2 separate regions of the Homo sapiens genome follow, and region 2 is linked to region 1. The links are contacts of gene promoters, found by promoter capture Hi-C in human tissues and cell types (Jung and others, 2019). All regions are on one chromosome and are shown on one strand. Each heading gives the region's core, a stretch centred on a gene start or on the middle of the fragment in contact. The rest is flanking DNA. Distances are from core to core; before and after follow the strand shown. Region 1 holds the start of RP9 (RP9 pre-mRNA splicing factor). Region 2 overlaps LSM5 (LSM5 homolog, U6 small nuclear RNA and mRNA degradation associated).

Region 1 (5,543 bases), core at 1,994-4,493:
AGGCCAGCTGAGGAAAAATACCTCCTCACCCCCATCAACATAGCAGGGCCCCATCTGTATTGTTTTTAATTATTAAATAAATAAATTGAATGAAAAAACATCCCCAAAAGTCCATCTGAGCCGATTTGAGGCCAATGGGACATCAGGGAAATTTGTTTCCAGCAGCTTCCTATCCTCTTCTTTACCAAGAGATTCTCCAAGGGTTTCCAAGAGATTCTCCCACTCCCACTATTCCCACACACCTAAATTCATGAGGGTTGATGAAAAACTCTGGACTAGAAATCAGACCATTTTGGTTGCAGGGCCACACTCTCCTTCTGAGCCTCAATTTCCTTATCTTACATTGTCTTGCATGCCCCCATAGGGTTTCTGTAAAATCAACTGGGAGAACATATGGGGGCAGGGGGAGATCTGCATGGCACTATATAAATGTAAAGAATCATATTTATCTGTGAGTAATAGAAGACCCAACTCAAAATCACTTCAATAATAAAGAAATGTACTATCTCCCAGAATGAGAAGTATGGATAGGTAGCAACACCAGGACTGGTTGATCAAATGTCTCTATCACATCCCCAAGGACCCAGGGGTCTCCTTCTGTCCTCTGCCATCCTCTGGGGGTTGCAGGCAACAACATCTGGAGGCAGAAAGGGGATCTTTGACACTCCCAAGCATCATTTATTAAGAGCAAAGACAACCTTACCCTGAAAGCCACCTCCATCCGACCTCTCCTCATACCTCATTGGCTAAAATTGCACCACAGGTCCATTGCTAAAACAATCAGTGGAAACGAGAACAAAATTACTAATGACTGGCTTAAGACAAGTCAAGACTCACCTCTAGAGAGGCATGAAGAGGCCTCCACTCTCTAACCAGCTTCCTGTATGATTCCTGAACAAAATCAAAGCTGGTAGCAAGGAAGAGAAGGAGAAATGTCAACTCAGTTGCCAAATATTTGCCCCAGAATACCAATTAAGTTTGGTGTCTGACCTTCCTCCCTCAGTCTTTCGTACCTGCAAGCCTAAAGTAAAGCACGTTGCAATTTTCCCTCCGATCCTACTGGTTAGCAACTATTGATGGATAGAAATAATTTTTCTTTTTTTGAGACAGGGGCTCACTCTGTCACTCAGGCTGGAGTGCAGTGACACGATCATGGCTCACTGTAGCCTCCACCTCCTGGGTTCATGCAATCCTCCCACCTAAGCTCCACAAATACCTAGGACAACAGGCACAAGCCACCATGCCTGGCCCTAGAAGTAATTTTAACAGCTGTTTTTAGTGCATGACCAAAGGGATTCTCATGTTTCTACTGCGCTGCAGAAGACCATAGACATGCACGCCTGAGGGTCCACTTCACCATGAGAGTTCCTTGAAGACTTGTATTTTGGGTAGGAAAAAAAGAAAGATTTTGCATTGTACTCTCTAATCTAGCCATGTGATCTTTCCCTTCTCCTACTTTTTTCCTCTCCTCATCTCCCCAGTGGGGAAAGGTCACTGGTAAGATAAGAGCTTGTAAAAATACACCTTAGCAGCAAAACAATGGTGTCAAGATTACACTGTGAAGGGTGATCAATACAAGCAGGAGAAAATCTATTCTTTTTTTAGTTGCTCCATTCTGAAAGGTTTAAAACCTGTCCAGTAGCACAGACTAAGGACCAACTGCAGCTGCCCCACCAGTGGGCCAACACCAAGGCTGCTTGACTGGCCTCAAGAATGAATCTCTGGTGTCTTAGGAGGGGGCAGAAGAATAAAATGAAAAACAGAGGGGTTCATGGACAGGAGGGTACAACAGAAAGAAAGCACAAAGAGAAGTCAGAGAATATCAAATCACAAAATAATTTCATAGTCAGGTGCAGTGATTCCCACCTGTAATCCCAGTGTTTTGGGAGGCTATGGCAGGAGGATTGCTTGAGGCCAGGAGTTCAAGGCCAGCCTAAGCAGCATAGCGAGACCCCGTCTCTACAAAATAAAAAACTTTAAAAAGTTAAAAAGAATTTTGGAAAGAGCAGTATCACATAGAAAATTAATGAGACTGTATCATCGAGGAGAGCCATGTCCTAAAAGAAAAAAAAAAAAGCTATTCATCATGATGCAAGACTTCAAAATATGTTAATCATCATAAAAGTTGGGCAGTTCATGTGGACAATCGCCATGCAATTGCCCATAATCTATCCCTGCAATACACTTTTTCTATGTTGAATTTTCTTTTTAGTTTGCTTTCGTTTTTCTATTTTCTCTTTTAGCTTTTTCATTATTGTAAATTGTCAGCATTATGTTTTACAATTCACTATGCTATGTATTACATCTTAACATCATTTCTAATACTGGAGGCATCAACTATATAAAGACTTTTAGAGAGTTCAAATTTGTTTTATGCATTTTTTGCAAATATGACTCAATCAAAGCTCATTATTACAATGGTGACTGTGTAAGCATTCTACATATATGCAAAAATGTAGAAATTTCCTCGATAAATAAATAAGTGTCTTTTCTGTACATCTGCATTTGTGAAAGATGAAATTTCTCAGGATCTTGGCTCCTCGGGTGACTGGCACAGTGGTGACGTCATGGTGACCCATCCTGTCAAAAGAGTTAGGTTGTCTCTCATGGTATATCAGATGACCGCAGTTATAAAGCTGGGTGCACACTATTACCGAACATAATTATATGTTTATACATTTCACTTTTTGAACACTTTTTTTTTTTTTTTTCTGAGAGACAATCTCGCTTTTTCGCCCAGACTGGAGTGCAGGGGCACCATCTCGGCTCACTGCAACCTCTGCCTCCTGGGTTCAAGCAATTCTCCTGCCTCAGCCACCCAAGTAGCTGGGACTACTGGCGCCCGCCACCACGCCTGGCTAATTTGAACATTTTTTTATGAATACATTTCATCTGCTCATCCCTATGTGACTGTTGCTAGTATACCTGAGGTGGGTGTGGCCGGGCGGGAACCTCCAGGCTCCCAACTAGCGCCTCGCCCCGCTTCGGCTCCAGCTAGGCGGCGCTCCCCACCCACCCGCAGCAGCCCGCCTGGCGGCTGGGCCCGAGACCCGGAGCCCCTGACTTGGGGCCCGACGCGGGGAGGCGGGGATCGGGTGGCCGAGGCTGAGACTTCGGGGCCGCCGGGGTGAGTTGCGGGGCGGCGGCGGGAGGGGGCGCTGCGAAGCCCCGCGACCGCCGCGCGGAGGAAGTGCTCTCTTGGCTGCCGCCGCCGCCGCCGCCGCCGCCGGAGCCGCGCCGCGGGGGTTGCCCGAGCGGCGCTGCGGGGGCTGACATGTCGTCCCGGCCTGGGCGCGAGGACGTGGGGGCTGCGGGCGCGCGGCGGCCGCGTGAGCCGCCGGAGCAGGAGCTGCAGCGACGTCGGGAGCAGAAGCGGCGGCGACACGACGCGCAGCAGCTGCAGCAGCTCAAGCACCTGGAGTCCTTGTGAGTCCCGAGCTGCCGTCCGCGCGCGGCCAGTCTTCTGAAGCCAGGGGCCCGGGGCGCGGGACGCCGCGGTGGGCGCTAGGCCGGGTCCTCCGAGCCCCCGCGAGCAGGCAGGGGGGCTGGGCCCGGCAGGAGCCTGGTGCGGGCGACCGATGTCGGGCGCCGCGGTCAAGGACTTGAAGTCCATCCTCCTGGCGGGGCGTTCAGGGAGCCAACTGCCGCTCGGCACCAAGCAGAATCTGACTTGGGAGGCCCTGCGCTTCCCTAGCTCCAGGGGGTTCCAGGAGAGTCCAAATGACCCGGGAGAGTGTGGTGTAAAGAAGATTCAAATGTAGGGGAAGGAAATATGGTTTCCCTCTACCCTTCTAAGTTCTTAAGCTGGGCCACAAATTAAATTGTCATAAGACAGATTAACAGGAGAAAAACTTTTAATTATGTACCCGTGCACTAGAGGGCCACAAAAGTGGGAGACAAAGAAGGGCCAGGGAATAGGGGCGTGGGCCTTTTGGGGCGTGGTGGAGACCTTTTGGAAGGGTGATGGGGGAAATGTATGGTGAATAAAGGTTGCTTTGTTATCCCGATGAGGCGCTCAGGCGATAAAAGTTGCCCCCAAGCAGCTGTCTTCCTGATACAGATACATTTACTACAGAAAATTTCCTTTATAGGTGTAAATTTCTGTTTACAACAGGCGAGTCGAAAAATAATAAGAACAAAAGGAAAAAAAGCAGTCATACTTTATTTTAGGCAGTTGAGGGGTAGCTGAATAAGTTATCCTGTGTTGTTTGGTTCTGTTACTTATAGCTCAAAGTCATCAATATGCCAGGGTGGCATGTTTGGGGATGGTGCATTCTTGTCTTTTGCAGTCATTTATCAGGGTGGCGTTTCCTAAATTCTAACACAGACCTCGAGTGGAAAGTTCAGGCAGCAACTCTTTCAGTTCTTGTCCGTGATTCTATAATTAGCTGCATAAAACAACCTTTTCTAAGTGTGGCATTCACTCAGTTATTCAAGAATTCGTTTCTGTTTTAGCCACTTCTAGTTACCTGTGCTAAGTAGGTGTTAAGTATAGCCTAACGCTGCCTCCTTGAATATTTTAAGTTTAGCCTAAAAGTTTCTCTGTACTTAGTGAACTGTAACCTAAGTAGATGTGTAAACAGACTGTAACCTACTGTTATAAGTACCTGAGTCTCAGACAATCACAGCAGCTGATTTTCAGGCCGTCACAGGTGGTCAGCCTTTGAAACCCTGTTCAAAGAAGGCAAACGCCAGGCTGTATGGAATCCAGCTATTTCTCTACCTCATTTGCTTTTCTGTACATCACTTTCCTTTTCCTGTCCATAAATGTTATCCCACCAGGTGGCAGCCTGAGAATTGCTCTGGACCTATTCTGGTTATGGGGGTGCCCTCTTTGAAAACAGTTCTTTGCTCAAGTAGAGTTTAATTTGTCTACTTTTAAAAAACATAATTCATATAAGAAAAGTTCCTCAAAGAATTAAAATCCTTTTTATAATTAACCTTCTGGGAGGTTTGATGTGAGATAAATTCCTATGTTGGGACCTGGCCTGCTCTTTTTCCAGTGTGGCCCGCTCTGAACGACTTTTCCCCTTAGCAGGGCAGGGGATGCAGGATAGAGACCCTGCATTGTGGGCATCCATGTTACAGGGCAGTCCTGGCCCTTTCAAGTCACTGTGTGGCGCTCTTGGTCTCCCAGGGAAGTCAGGTGTTCAAAGATCTTCCCCTAGCGTAAGCATCAGAATGCCTGGCCCTGCCCAGCCCTCAATATATTTAGCTATAGAATGCTAGAGGATGGTTAATTCCACTTATTTGTAGCTCAGAGAGCTTTTTCACAGATGAGAGAGATTATAACCTACTTTTACAGATGAAAAAATGGAGGAACAGTGGTTAAGTCATGTGATCAAGCATACATTGACCAGTTAGTTAACCAGCAAATCTAGAGCTGAACCCAGGTGTCTGATTGACTGGTGGGATTTTTCCAGTTTCTGAGATTTAAAACTGAATGAGCCGTTGAGACATTTGCTTTGGCCAGTTCAGAATCTTGTTTGAGCTTTAAATTGTATTTATACCACAGTAATATGTAGTTTTAAAATTCAAATAGT
Region 2 (5,543 bases), core at 1,635-4,134, 630 kb after region 1:
CCAGGTTCAAGTGATTGTCCTGCCTCACCCTCCTGAGTAGCTGGGATTACAGGTGGGCGCCACCACTCCCATCTAATTTTTATATTTTTAGAGAGATGGGGTTTTACCTTGTTGGCCAGGCTGGTCTTGAACTCCTGACCTCTAGTGATCCACCTGCCTCAGCCTCCCAAAGTGCCGGTATTAAAGGCATGAGCCACCAGGCCTGGCCTAAAATTTTCTTGATTAATTTTGATCTCATTTGTATTTTGTAAATGACTTATCTGTTGAGGCTTTTGCCATTGAGATGTTTGTCTTTTTCTTACTAATTTGTAAGAATTCTTGATGGGTTTCTGTTAGTCATGTATTTTGCTAATAATTTCCCTAGTTTGTAGTTTGCCACTTAGTGCTATTTTTGACATAAATGATGTATTTTAATGTAGTTGCATGTTGACCTAGTCCATTATGGTTTTTGTATTTGGTCCACGTGGATTGGAAAACCTTTGCTTTGATTATACTTTTCTTTGGGCACTTTATGTTTTCTGCGTTTGATTTAAATCTGGAATCTATCTGGAATTTTGGTATTACCACATGGAAAAAGGATCCAACCTTATTTTCCAAAACACAAAGCACTGATTTGTAGTTTTCTCTGATTTACATGTTGTCAGTACTACTGCCTTGGCTAATTTCAAGCTACCAAGGCTTTAACAACTGGTTTGCAAAATTCTCAAGGATTTGACAGTTGATTCTCAGGAGCCAGTATGAGCTGGTTGCCTCACACTTTGCTTCTAACTCTTGGGGGCAATGCTTTCCCTCCACTGTTGTTTCTTTCCCTTTGGAGGGGAGTAAGTGATGTAACACCTGCTTCTTTCCACCCCTTTATTATTTGCTATCCCAGGGGAGCTAATAGTCATACCCAAGCTCTTCCTTTTTTCATCATAGGAGTTAGGCCAGGTGCAGTGGCTCATGTCTGTAATCCCAGTGCTACATTGTAGGTGGTCGAGGTGGAAGGATAGATTGAGGCCAGGAGTTGGAGACCAGCCTGGGTAATATAGTGAGACCCCATCTCTACCAAAAATTTTAAAAAATTAGTGAGGTGTGGTAGTGTGCATGCACCTGTAGTCCTACGTAGTTGGGAGGCTGAGGCAGGAGAATTGCTTGAGCCCAGGAGTTTGAGATTTCAGTAAGCTATGATTGCACCACTGTACTCCAGCCTGGGTGACAGTGAGACCCCGTCTCAAAACCTACAATGAAACGCCATTTCATGGGTGCTATAGAATGGCTATAATTATAAAAAATTATTGTAACAAGAATTGTACAAAAATTAATGTAACAAGTATTGGCTGGGATATGAAGAAATTGGAGCCCTAGTACCTTGCTGGTGCGAATGTAAAATGATGCATGCACTGTGGAAAATAATTTGATGATTCCTCAAAAAGTTAAACAATTACCATACGACCCTGCAACTCCTCTCCTCAGTTCATACCCAAGAGAACTAAAAACATGTCTGCACAAAAACTTGTATGAACATTCACGGCAGCATTATTCCTAATGTCTCAAAGTGGAAGCAACCCAAATGTCCATCGATGGATGGATGGATAACTGAAATGCGATATATTCATACAATAGAATATTATCTGTTAAAATGAATGAAGTACTTGTGTATGCTACAGTGTGGATGAACTGTAACATTATGCTAAGTGAAAGAAGCCAGACACAAAAGACCACATATTTGATTTATATGATCCAGAACAGGCAAATTCACAGAAATAGACAACTATACTAGTGACTGCTAATGGGTATGGGTTTGTTTTTTGGGGTGATGAAAAAGTTCTGGGATTAGATGGTTGCACAACCTTGTGAATATACTAAAAAGCACTGAATTATAACCTTAAAAGAGTGGATTTCATGTTACATGAATTACATCTCAATTTTTAAAAAGTGATGTATCTGAGGCATATCTAGTGTAACTTCTGAGGCCCTAAAGAAATTACTTTCCCATGAGTAACAGCTTGGGTTGTGGCTGCTGAAAGGACTTTAACCACCTAAGCATCAAACCCCCTTCTGGTTAAGACTGAACAGAATAAGGATTTGGGAAAGGTTGTTTTGGGCATTTAACTTAAGAATGTTGGACATTTTTTGTTTGTTTTGAGACAAGGTCTTGCTCTGTCACCCAGGCTAGAGTGCAGTGGTGTGATCAGTGCTCACTGCAGCTTCGAACCACTGGGATCAAGCGATTCTCCCCCCTTAGCCTCCCAAGTAGCTGGATCCACAGGCAGGTGCCACCATGCCCAGCTATCTTTTCTCTTTTTGTTTTTTTAAAGATAGGGTCTCGGTCTGTCACCCAGACTGGAGTGCAGTGGTCATGGCTCACTGTAGCCTCGACTTCTCGGGCTCAGGTGATCCTCCCACACTACAGGTGCACACCACCACACCTGGTTAATTTTTTGTGTTTTTGATAGAGACTGGGTCTTGTCATATTGCCCAGGCTGGTCTCAAACTCTGGGCTCAAGCGATCAACTCGCCTTGGCCTCCCAAAGTGCTGGGATTACAGTTGTGAGCCACCGTGCCTGGCCTAATTTTTTAATATTTTGTAGAGACAGGGTGTCACCATGTTGCCTAGGCTGGTTGATTCTTAACTTACAAAAATAAGGGTATTTAGTTTTGGATTTTAATTCTAGTGGAGTTTAACATTTTTGGACTTTGATTTGGAAGGAGGTTTAATTTTTGAATTCCAGTAAATTTGATAATGGCACAGGATTATATGTAGATTTGGGCATCTCTGTTGTTGGCATTTTATTATTGGGTGTTGGTGTGCTGATATGCCAGGTTAGACCATTTATTAGTTGGGGTTCTCCAGAGATGACCAATAGTATATGTATATAGATATATAAGGGGATTTATTAGGAGAATTGGTTCATGCGATTATGGAGGCTGGGAAGCCCCAAAACAGGCTGTCTGCAAGCTGGAGACCTTGATGTGGCTCAGTCCAAGTCCAAAGACCTCAGAGCTTGGGATGCTCATGATAAAATTCTCAGTCTGAGGCTGAAGGCCTGAGAACCCAGGGGGCTACTGGTGTAAGTCCTGGAGTCCAGAGGTCTCCTAAAGTTGGGATCACTCTTCCTTCTCTGTCCTCAGAGGACAACATCATCAGAACATCAGGAGTTCTTATATCCAAAGACAGAGAAGGAAGAGTTATCCCCGCTCTAGGAGGGAGACAGACATGTTGCCTTTTCTGTGTTGTTCTCTTTGGACCTTCTGTCAACTGAATGCTGGCCCACATTGAAGGTGTATCTCACCTAGTCCACTCAGACTCACACCCTAAAGTAGTCTGGAAACACCCTCATAAACACAGCCAAATAATGCTTTACTAGGTTTCTAGATATCCTTAATCCAGTTAACTTGACACCTAAAATTAGCCATCACAGATCATGTTGCAGGATCAGGAGGACCAGAGAGAGACCTTGGGGTGTATAGAGGAGGATATATTTATTATTGAGTGCACTCAGACCCTGCAGACTTAACATTGAAATACTGGGCCCAGAACAAAGACAGCACTTGATTTTATGCACACTTCACAAAAGGGGGTGGGCTAGCTTGAAGCAAGCTTACAGTGGCCTGAAAGCAGGGATACAGAGGCAGGACAAAGACAGTTAATCAAATTGTAACAGATCATAACTCAGGATTACACATGACCATTGCCAGTCAACCCAGATGTCTGTTATCTAGGTTTTGCCTAGGCACGGGCTTATCCTATAACCTTCACTGGCACCCAGGTGGCCATAACACAGGCCTGCTCAGAGGCTCTGACCTTCACTCTACTGCTTAGATAAAACAGAATGTTTGAAGTCACTGGTTACAGAGAACAGGAATCTATAAACTCATTCCATAAAACGAAGGAAAATTTGTTTTTCTTCTCCGTATGTTGAGGGAATGCTGGGAGAGTTTCCAGAGCACATTAGATAATATTATCAAGACTTCCTGGGTCTGGGCTGTGCCTTTTGCTGCCTCTGGGACAAGTCAGCCTAACACAGGAAAACTTATTTCTCTTTCTTTTTAAGTTTATTTTTCTTTAATTTCCCGCCTCAACAATGTGGTGGGCATACTTTGGGTGGGAAATGGAGTGAATTTTCAGACTTAGAATTACAGAAGCCTTGGAGTTGCCTTAATTAATATATTATTCTGACTCTGTTTAGAGCCTTTTGGGGCAAAATCTAAACTGCTTCCAGTGATCCCAATGGCAGTTGGATTTGGGAGTGATAGACTGTGTTCTTCTCTATGGCTCTAATGGTTAAGTTCAGTGAGTGAAAAGAACAAAAAGATGGGGAATGTAAGGGAAATGCTTCTTTTCTACCTCTGATGTTTTCTTCTACATGAAAGCTTAATTAGTGTAACACATCTGCCCTCTCTCTGTCCTTTTATTCTGTATGCCCGGAGACATGCAGACTGAGTTGCCTGAGGGAGTGTGGGTTCTGCTCTGCTTTTTCCTGTAAGTTTTAGAGGTGTCTGCTTCCACATGAAGAAGTCTGGGGTGGTTTGTGGTTTGCCTATGGTTTGGTGGGTACATCTGAATAATTCTGGAGTTCCAAACACAGAAGTTAACTACAGTCTGTAGATATAAGTTACATCATCCAATGTAGTAGTAGTAACAATGACTGCTGTCTGTTTTCTACTTTGCCTTTGTTCTCAATTGGTTCAGAACTCAATTGTGGAAGAAGAGTGCTAATTATTGGCCCCCCTCAAGACTCCAATAGCCCTTGAGTCTCTGCTGTACTAAGACAAAAACCTCCTCTGCCTTCCTGCCTGCCTCCCATCTCTACCCTGTCATATCTGTCCATCCCAGCCATCAGACCATCAGAGCAACTGACTGATTGATCTAAAATGCAGGATATGGTCATGCTATGTTTGGCTTTATTTTTTTGAGATGGAGTTTCGCTCTTGTTGCCCAGGCTGGAGTGCCATGGCGCGATCTCGGCTCACAGCAACCTCTGCCTCCGAGGTTCAAGCGATTCTCCTGCCTCAGCCTCCTGAGTAGCTGGGATTACACGTATGAGTTACCACGCCTGGCTAATTTTGTATTTTTAGTGGAGACGGGGTTTCTCCATGTTGGTCAGGCTGGTCTTGAACTCCCAACCTCAGGTGATCCACCCGCCTTGGCCTCCCAAAGTGCTGGGATTACAGGTGAAGCCACTCCACCTGGCCGGCTTTCAAACTTTTCAGTAAGTTACCTTCTATACAATGAAAGGCCAGGTTCCTTAACAGGTTACCATGAGGGGTGCCTGTTGACCTTCTCAGTCACATCTCAGTCTTGCCTTCACAGCACAGAATTTATAACACTGGCTGTTACCCATCTTTGGCCTTTGGCTTTACTCATGTTGGACTTTTGTGGGAAGAGCCTTATCTCCAAACCTATCTTCATTTGGTTTACTTGTATTCAAGACTAGGCTCAAATGTCTCTTCCTCCAGAAAGTCCTATGGGAACCCTCATCCCTCTATCACTACTCAATGCTTATATGGGACAGGTCATGGAGGCTTTTGTTATATTGTGAAACTGTCTTGAGTAGCTA

What was found. The method cuts DNA at HindIII sites, captures the fragments that hold promoters and counts their contacts. A contact is called where the count stands out against the background at its distance.
Region 2: a contact is called between a fragment that was not itself captured here and the fragment with the promoter of RP9 in region 1, in 1 of the 25 tissues and cell types used here (lymphoblastoid cells).

The regions. Positions count from the first base shown.
Region 1 is chr7:33,107,104-33,112,646 of GRCh38, reverse strand. RP9 (RP9 pre-mRNA splicing factor) reads left to right here and starts at 3,243. Exons shown (of 6, transcript NM_203288.2): 1 at 3,243-3,426. The coding sequence starts at 3,275. RefSeq lists silencers at 2,868-3,347, 3,358-3,587. The HindIII fragment of the contact is 15,438 bases long and covers 1-5,543 here.
Region 2 is chr7:32,480,302-32,485,844 of GRCh38, reverse strand. LSM5 (LSM5 homolog, U6 small nuclear RNA and mRNA degradation associated) reads left to right here. Exons shown (of 5, transcript NM_012322.3): 5 at 1-507. Among named protein-coding and RNA genes, the nearest start is that of LSM5, 7.3 kb to the left of the region's middle. The HindIII fragment of the contact is 4,347 bases long and covers 711-5,057 here.